Regions from separate parts of the Homo sapiens genome. Here region 2 is linked to region 1. The links are contacts of gene promoters, found by promoter capture Hi-C in human tissues and cell types (Jung and others, 2019). All regions are on one chromosome and are shown on one strand. The core of a region is centred on a gene start or on the middle of the fragment in contact, and the rest is flanking DNA. Distances in the headings are between cores, read along the strand shown.

Region 1 (4,248 bases), core at 492-2,991:
TGAGGTCAGGAGTTTGAGACCAGCCTGGCCAACATGATGAAACCCCATCTCTACTAAAAATACAAAAACTAGCTGGGCATGGTGGCACACGCCTGTAATCCCAGCTCCTTGGGAGGCTGAGGCAGGAGAATTGCTTGAGCCCGGGAGATGGAGGTTGCAGTGAGCCGAGATTGTGCCACTGCACTCCAGCCTGGCTGACAAAGTGAGACTCTGTCTCAAAATAAATAAATAAATAAAATAAGTATCTCAGCATGCTATCATAGAAGAAAGTCTAGTTTGTACGCTAAAAGATCTAGCATCTTTATGAACTTAGTTACTACATCAACACAATTATATGATCTAGGACAAGTCATTTGGTCTCCATACAGTTTAGTTTCTTCACTTATAAACTGACAAGGGGTTGAACTAGATTATTTCTTGCCAGGCCTAATATTCTATAATTTTTATAAAATCCATCAATAATGGGGTCACCACAAAGAAGGAAACATTTCTGTGATAGTTTCTCAAAAGTACCCTGGCCTGATCCTTCACTGCTACACGTCCCTGGACAAGTAGGTCTTTAACTTGCTACATTCTCTTCATTGTCTTTAACCACCCAGTGAATATCTCAAAAAATACCAAGAATTGGTTAACTAAAGTTTATACAATAACAAGATAAGCTTTTCACAAATATGTCTTATTTATTATTATTTATTTGTTTAAAGTTATAAGACATAAATTGGGCAACTCTTTTAACAAATTATTTTATCTGAGACACCGTTTACTTCAACCAAGTCACAAATAACCTGATTTTGTTATTAAATAACCTCTCAAAAAAAAAATTCAAGTTCTACTGTGTTTAGCTAGCAAGAGTTCTGTTTTGCATTTAACATATCTAAAAGGCCTCATGCACAATATAAGTAAATAACTCTTCTCACTACACAAGTAGATGCTAAAGCAACCTAGAGATTGAATAACTTCTGTGAGATCCTGCAGTGTCTGAAACAGACAGTATCTTTTTCAATCTTCTTTATTTTGTAAATTCCATCAGCTTAAAATGAAAAATTCTAACTATTAACCTCTCTAACTTCACTCTTGAGATCTTTCTTTCTGCCATTCAATTGGCATGAATAGTTCTCAAAGGAAGTGGAGAGCCATGAAAGCAAAGGATCTGAGCATGTCACGCAGCTCCTGTTCAGCCTGCCCTCTTAGCCTTTCTATAATCAAGGGCTTAGCTGGCCATGCACCTTTAAATCGTTTGATCTCAAGCAACAATTTGTGAACATGAGCATAATAAAAATTTTGGAACATAGAATGTGTTTAGAAATTTCCAATACCTTGAGAGGCCTTTGAGAGTTAAACTGCTCAAAACGAAAACAGTGAAGGAGTAGGTGACCAGTGTTAAAACAATTAAGTTAAAGCTTATGGACACTAAACATTCTCTTCTGTGATTTCTGATCCCCAAACATTTGCTTTCAAAAGTAGGCTTTCTTGTTTGGGTCCTTTTTGTCAAAATAATGAGAACACTTAGTAACAAGCAGAGGAGCATACCTTGATCCTGAGCCGTCATTTCTGCCGTGATAATCACAGGTGCACTGTGAAGGACACAAACAGCCCACTCCTTCCAAAAAGCTAAGGACAATGCACAGACATGCAAAGAGATGCATTGCTCCTTTTAGAGGTTATTTAAACAAAAGGTAAAAACCGAATCCTAAGCATTCAGAACCTGGTATGCCTGGAATACAAACAGCCATTTAGTAACAGCAGATTACACGGGATTAGCTGAGATCTGTAGTTACTTAACCTTCAAGTGTATCTTGCAGGAGATCAATTGATCCAGCCTTTGAATACAGTTTCAGCAAAGTAACACATTCTAAGGAAAATGAAAATCAAACACATGACAAGCAATTTCAATAGTTACCCGTAACTAGATTTGCAAGAAAATGCCTATTAAATCCCTTTCTTCTGGATGTACTTGCCACTACACCTTAAAAATATACTTAATGTAAAATAATTCAGTCTTGGCAGATGCAAGAAAATTCTGTAGATTATTTACATGTTACAACATTATAAAATGTTTTGCATTTGGTTTTTGCCAGAATGTGTTACTAATTCAGTTTTACAAAATTTAGTTTTAAAAATAGAAGCACATGACATAAAAATGATTTAGAAAAGAGTTATCGATGTTGCCACATACTGGCTATCTCTAAAAGTAAAGTAAAACAAGTCAGTTACACAGATTTTATAGGGAAAATGCTTCAATCCACTACTGATGTGGCAGGACTAAGTTCTCCAATAAGAACGTGTTCTGAGACTCTTCCAGGTCATCTCAGTGTGTGGAAGGTTTATCCCAGCACATTTATTTTTAATGCAGGCAACTATCTCTGTTCAATAGTTTCCCAAGTTATCAGCATCAAAGCCATATTTGAAGATCAACTCTAATTCTTTCAGCTATATTAGGCTCTGTCAGAAAATAAAAATTAAATGTAATTAAATTTAAAAGTATCTCCACACTCATAGAGTGGAGAATCCACAGGGACAATCAAGGATTTAAGTAATAAATATACGTCATTTAACCTTCTTAGTGGCTGCTTCTAACCATCCTCTTTAACTAAAAACCTTTTTAAAAGAAAATTAATTCTATAAAAATAAGCATATTATAGAAAATGTTATTTAAAACCAATAGAATGTATATAAAAACCATACAGTCTGAAAAACTGTGCTCAATTAAAATAAAATACTGCAGGTTTTCAGATTCTGCACAACTCGTTTGTTCATCAAATATTTACTGAGTACTTATTCTCTGCTGAGCATTGAGGGGTACAAAGATAAATAAGACAGTTATTACACATAAGGAACTCACACGATAAAGGGAGGAACAGACTACTAAAGAAGCACGAGAAAAGAGCATCAAACCCAGCCTGTGTTAGTCAAGCAAGACTTCCTAGGGTGGGTGGTGCCTGGCTGCCTTTTACAGGGTGCATGACGATGTATTATGGGAAAATCCAGAAAGTTGCATTGCAAGCAAAGGGAATAGTGGGAACAAAGGGAGGGAAGTGAGAAACAGTGTATTGTCCTCAGAGAATTTCAAGCACTTCTTGTTGCTCAGGCATAAGATTTTGAGGCAGGAAGTTAAAAAAGATAAAGCTGGAGAGATAAGCGGGGATGAAGTTATCAAGGAAACCCTTAGATTCCCTATGGAGAGCTTACTCTCAGCCTACAGGCAATGGGAGCAATAAAAGTTAGGCTTGGGAGTGGCATATCAGCTTATCCTTTCAGGAAGAATTCTCTGGCGGCTGTGTGGAGAAAAGGTTTAGACAGAGCAAGCAAGAAGAAAGGAGGAAGCTTCTAGATAGAGCAAGCAAGAAGAAAGGAGGAGGCTTCAGGTGGATGTCTGTGGTTATAGTCCAGGTGAGCAGCCATTAGGCTACAGCCTTGACTGCTGTGCTAGTAATCGTTAGGATAATGCAGCTTCAGGAAACACCCAGGAGAGAGAAATGATTGATTAGACGTAAGGATGAAGAAGGGATTTAAAAACAACCCTAAGGTTTCCCAGTGCTGGAGATGCAGTGAGAGGTGGTGGCCTCGAGTTTTTGAGCACAAGAGGAAAAAGAAATTGGATGGGTAAAGCTCTGATCGCCAAGTGACCAAGGGTTTTTGAATCATTAATTTCATGGATGTTATGACTTACATGGAAGCAAGACGTGCCAAATTGAGCATAGAAACGCTGTTTAAAGATAAAAACATCAGAAATTAGCAAACTAAGAGGTCAGAGGGAACTATGTAACCAAAGCCAGGTCTTCCTAGTTTTATCATATAAGCAAATTAAAAAATAAATAATATAGCATTGAAATATAATTACTGTACACTGTTGAAGTCCTTTATATTTGAGGCAAAGTTGCTTCTTGCTTATCGCTGGAAATGAGTTCACAGCCTTGCAAATTGGAACTCTGAGTCCATTTTTCTAGACATTATTACAGAAGTTGTCCTGGCCTTTTAATGGCTCTGGGACTTTGGGTGCAGATTTCACTATGCTTTCCCTGTAAAAAGGCTCGGCTATGATAGACAGGATGAGCGAAGACCTAGTGACACAAAGCATTCAGAGCTCTCTCGGAACACTAGACATTTTAATTTGGCCATGAAGAGAGACAAAAAGCTGAAAAGTCCCTCTTGAAGTATGTTAAAGAGGGCCTTGAAAATCCAGCTGAGGGGTTTATACTTACTTGGTGGGTGAGTGAAGGTTTTTAGCCAAAGAATTTGGGCATTGGA
Region 2 (4,248 bases), core at 1,099-3,598, 91 kb before region 1:
AATCCACCCAATAGATTCTTTTCTCATTATAATGAAAATCCATGATCACTGAGACACCAGCATCCACCACCAATTGCTCATAATTGGTTCCTTCTGTGTCAATCCTAAAGATACTATTTCCATGGGAGAAAATTAAGAAGGGTGCAGGACCTGGGTGGGAAGAAAGAGACCAAACTGTATACTTTTAATATTTTATCTCATTTAAACAAAATACTTCCCAATGACAACCAACACAAGCAGAAATAATTTTTAATTACTGGTTTTCTGTTTAAAATAAAGTCTATTTATAGACAATAAAGAGTTCCTGTAGATATTCACACTCCACTTTGTAAATTGTCTTCTCCACAAACTGATTATAAGACATGAACATTGGTAAATTATGAAAAATGAACTCTCTGAAGAGAAAGACACTTTTTACTCTTTATCCATAAAATACCTTTTTATGTTCAAAAAGGAACCACCCATCATATTCTATTGTGGAAAGGATTTATATAAGTGTAAATTTTAATTATGTAAATTAGAACTAAAATTACAGATATTATCATTTTGGAAATGGACTCCTTGGGTCTTACCTATGACCAGAGCCTTCAGCATAATGACCTAGAAGACGACGGTGAAAACTAAAAGGTCTTAGACGGAAGCAGGAAAAATTGAAATGCTGTTTCAATTTCAGAATCCTGTAAAGGTTCTGAAATATTTTGACCCTGTTATCTTTACCACATAAATACAGGATGCCCAAATAAATTTGAATTCCACATATATTGCATGGGACATACACTAAAAATTTGTTCTCTATTTACCTGAAATTCAAATTTGACTGGGCACTTTGCATTTTTATTTGCTAAATCTGGGTGGCAAACCTCACTAGATTTCTTGGTGCCTGTAGGGCCTTGCTTGGTACCCTAATCCTGTACCTGGGGTCCTCTCCTGTTCTAGGTGATGGCCACCTACCAACTCTGATGCCCCAATATTCAATATCTACTTGGGAACCTGATCCCTTCTTGGGAAACCTCACCACTAATTACTGACAGACTCCACACACAGCTTGCCTGTGATGCTCTGAGATGACACCAGAGGATGAAATTAGTTACATCAAGTCAAGTTAGTTTTCTTGGTCTCTCTCTCTTGACCAAGTGTGAGGAGGCTTGGGCCACTCTGCCTTTAGAAAATGACAGAATCACTGGGGTAAGTGGGGAATGGAGGGGAATTCTAACATATTCTTGCTTCTGTGCTGGGCTTACTCCATTCTGTTTTATCATCAAAAGTAATACTTTAATATGACTTAATAAATGTGTTTATTGTAAGCATTGAACAAAATGATGGGTTAACATCCTTTTACTCAGGGACTATGTTCTAGAGTCAGAAAACACTAACTCCACTTTGGAGAGTACGTTGAATTAAAGCTACAAGAGGGTTGGCGCTTCCAAGATGGCCGAATAGGAACAACTCAGGTCTACAGCTCCCAGCAAGATTGACACAGAAGATGGGTGATTTCTGCATTTCCAACTGAGGTACCTGGTTCATCCCACTGGGACTGGTTGGACAGTGGGTGCAGCCCACGGAGGGCCAGCCGAAGCAGGGTGGGGTGTTGCCTCATGTGGGAAGTGCAAGGGGTCAGGGGATTTCCCTTTCCTAGCCAAGGGAAGTTGTGAGTGCCTGTAACTGGAGGAACTGTACACTTTTGTCCAAATACTGCGCTTTTCCCACGGTCTTTGCAACCAGCAGGCCCGGATGTTCCCTCCCCTGCCTGGCTCAGCTGGTCCCATACCCATGGAGCCTTGCTCACTGCTAGCGCAGCAGTCTGAGATCGATCTGGGATGCTAAAGCTTGGTGGAGGGAGGGATGCCACCATTGCTGAGGCTTGAGTAGGTAGTGCTATGCTCACAGTGTAAACAAAGAGGCAGGGAAGCTCGAACTGGGCAGAGCCCAACGCAGCTCAACAAGGCCTACTGCCCCTTTAGATTCCACCTCTGGAGGCAGGGCATATCTGAACAAAAGGCAGCAGACAGCTTCTACAGACTTAAACATCCCTGCCTGACAACTCTGAAGAGAGCAGTGGTTCTCCCAGCACAGCGTTTGAGATCCATTAACAGACACACTGCCTCCTCAAGTGGGTCCCTGAGCCTGTGTAGCCTCACTGGGAGACACCTCCTAGTAGGGGCCAACAGACACCTCATACAGGCAAGTGCCCCTCTGGGACAAAGCTTCCAGAGGAAGAATCAGGCAGCAATATTTGCTCTTCTGTAGCCTCCACTGGTGATACCCAGGCAAACAAGGTCTAAAGTGGACCTCCAGCAAACTCCAACAGATCTGCAGCTGAGTGGCCTGTCTGTTAGAAGGAAAACTAACAAACAGAAATGAATAGCATCAACATCAACAGAAAAGACATCCACATCAAAACCCCATCCGTAGGTCACCAGCATCAAAGACCAAAGGTAGATAAAACCGCTAAGATGGGAAGAAACCAGAGCAAAAAGGCTGAAAATTCCAAAAACCAGATTGCCTCTTCTTTTCCAAAGGAACACAATTCCTTGCCAGCAAGGGAACAAAACTGGACAAAGAATGAGTTTGACAAGGTGACAGAAGTAGGCTTCAGAAGATCAGTAATAACAAACTTCTCCGAGCTAAAGGAGCATGTTCTAACCCATCGCAAGGAAGCTAAAAACCTTGAAAAAAGGTGAGACAAATGGATAACTAGAATCAACAGTGTAGAGAAGAGCTTAAATGACCTGATGTAGCTGAAAACCACAGCACAGGAACTTCGTGACACATGCACAAGCTTCAATAGTCAATTCAATCGAGCGGAAGAAAGGATGTCAGCAATTGAAGATCAAATTAATGAAATAAAGCAAGAAGACAAGATTAGAGAAAAAAGAGTGAAAAGAAACAAACAAAGCCTCAAAGAAATATGGAACTATGTGAAAAGACCAAATCTACATTTGATTGGTGTACCTGAAAGTGACGGGGAGAATGGAACCAAGTTAGAAAACACTCTTCGGCATATTATCCAGGAGAATATCTCCAACCTAGCAAGGCAGGCCAACATTCAAATTCAGGAAATACAGAGAACACCCCCAAAGATACTCCTCGAGAAGAGCAACCCCAAGACACATAATTTTCAGATTCACCAAGGTTGAAATGAAGGAAAAAATGTTAAGGGCAGCCAGAGAGAAAGGTCGAGTTACCCACAAAGGGAAGCCCATCAGACTAACAGCAGATCTCTCTGCAGAAATCCTACAGCCAGAAGAGAGTGGGGGCCAATATTCAACATTCTTAAAGAAAAGAATTTTCAACCCAAAATTTCATATCCAGACAAACTAAGCTTCATAAGTGAAGGAGAAATAAAATCCTTTAAAGACAAGCAAATGCTGAGAGATTTTGTCACCACCAGGCCTGCCTTACAAGAGCTCCCGAAAGAAGCACTAAATATGGAAAGGAAGAACCGGTACCAGCCACTGCAAAAACATGTCAAATGGTAAAGACCATGGACGCTATGAAGAAACCAGCTAGCACCATAATGACAGGATCAAATTCACATATAACAATATTAACCTTAAATGTAAATGGGCTAAATGCCCCAATTAAAAGACACAGACTGGCAAATTGGATAAAGAGTCAAGACCATCAGTGTGCTGGTTTCAGGAGGCCCATCTCATGTGCAAAGACTCACATAGGCTCAAAATAAAGGGATGGAGGAAGATCTACCAAGCTAATGGAAAGCAAAAAAAAAAAAAAAGCAGGGATTGCAATCCTGGTCTTTGATAAACAGACTTTAGAGAAACAAAGATCAAAAGAGACAAAGAAGACCATTACATAATGGTAAAGGGATCAATGCAGCAAGAAGAACTAAGTAGCCTAATTATATGTACACCCAATACAGGAGCACCCAGATTCATAAAGCAAGTTCTTAGAGACCTACAAAGAGACTTAGACTCCCACACAATAAAAGTGGGAGACAATAACACCCCACTGTCAATATTAGACCAACGAGAAAGAAAATTAACAAGGATATTCAAGACTTGAACTCAGCTCTGGACCAAGCAGACCTAATAGACATCTACAGAACTCTCCACCCCAAATCAACAGAATACACATTCTTCTCAGCATCACATCACACTTATTCTAAAATTGAACACGTAATTGGAAGTAAAACACTCCTCAGCAAATGCAAAAGAACAGAAATTGTAACAGTCTCTCAGACCACAGTCCAATCAAATTGGAACTCAGGATTAAGAAACTCACTCAAAA

The links. Contacts are between HindIII fragments. The study calls those that stand out against the background at their distance.
Region 2: a fragment that was not itself captured here is called in contact with the fragment with the promoter of LRIT3 in region 1 in 4 of the 25 tissues and cell types used here (mesenchymal stem cells, mesendoderm cells, spleen and 1 more).

What each region holds. Positions count from the first base shown.
Region 1 is chr4:109,845,600-109,849,847 of GRCh38, reverse strand. It overlaps LRIT3 (leucine rich repeat, Ig-like and transmembrane domains 3), which reads right to left and starts at 1,741. Exons shown (of 4, transcript NM_198506.5): 1 at 1,531-1,741. The coding sequence starts at 1,646. The HindIII fragment of the contact is 6,154 bases long and covers 1,031-4,248 here.
Region 2 is chr4:109,936,848-109,941,095 of GRCh38, reverse strand. EGF (epidermal growth factor) reads right to left here. Exons shown (of 24, transcript NM_001963.6): 2 at 1-150. Among named protein-coding and RNA genes, the nearest start is that of EGF, 26 kb to the right of the region's middle. The HindIII fragment of the contact is 3,806 bases long and covers 446-4,248 here.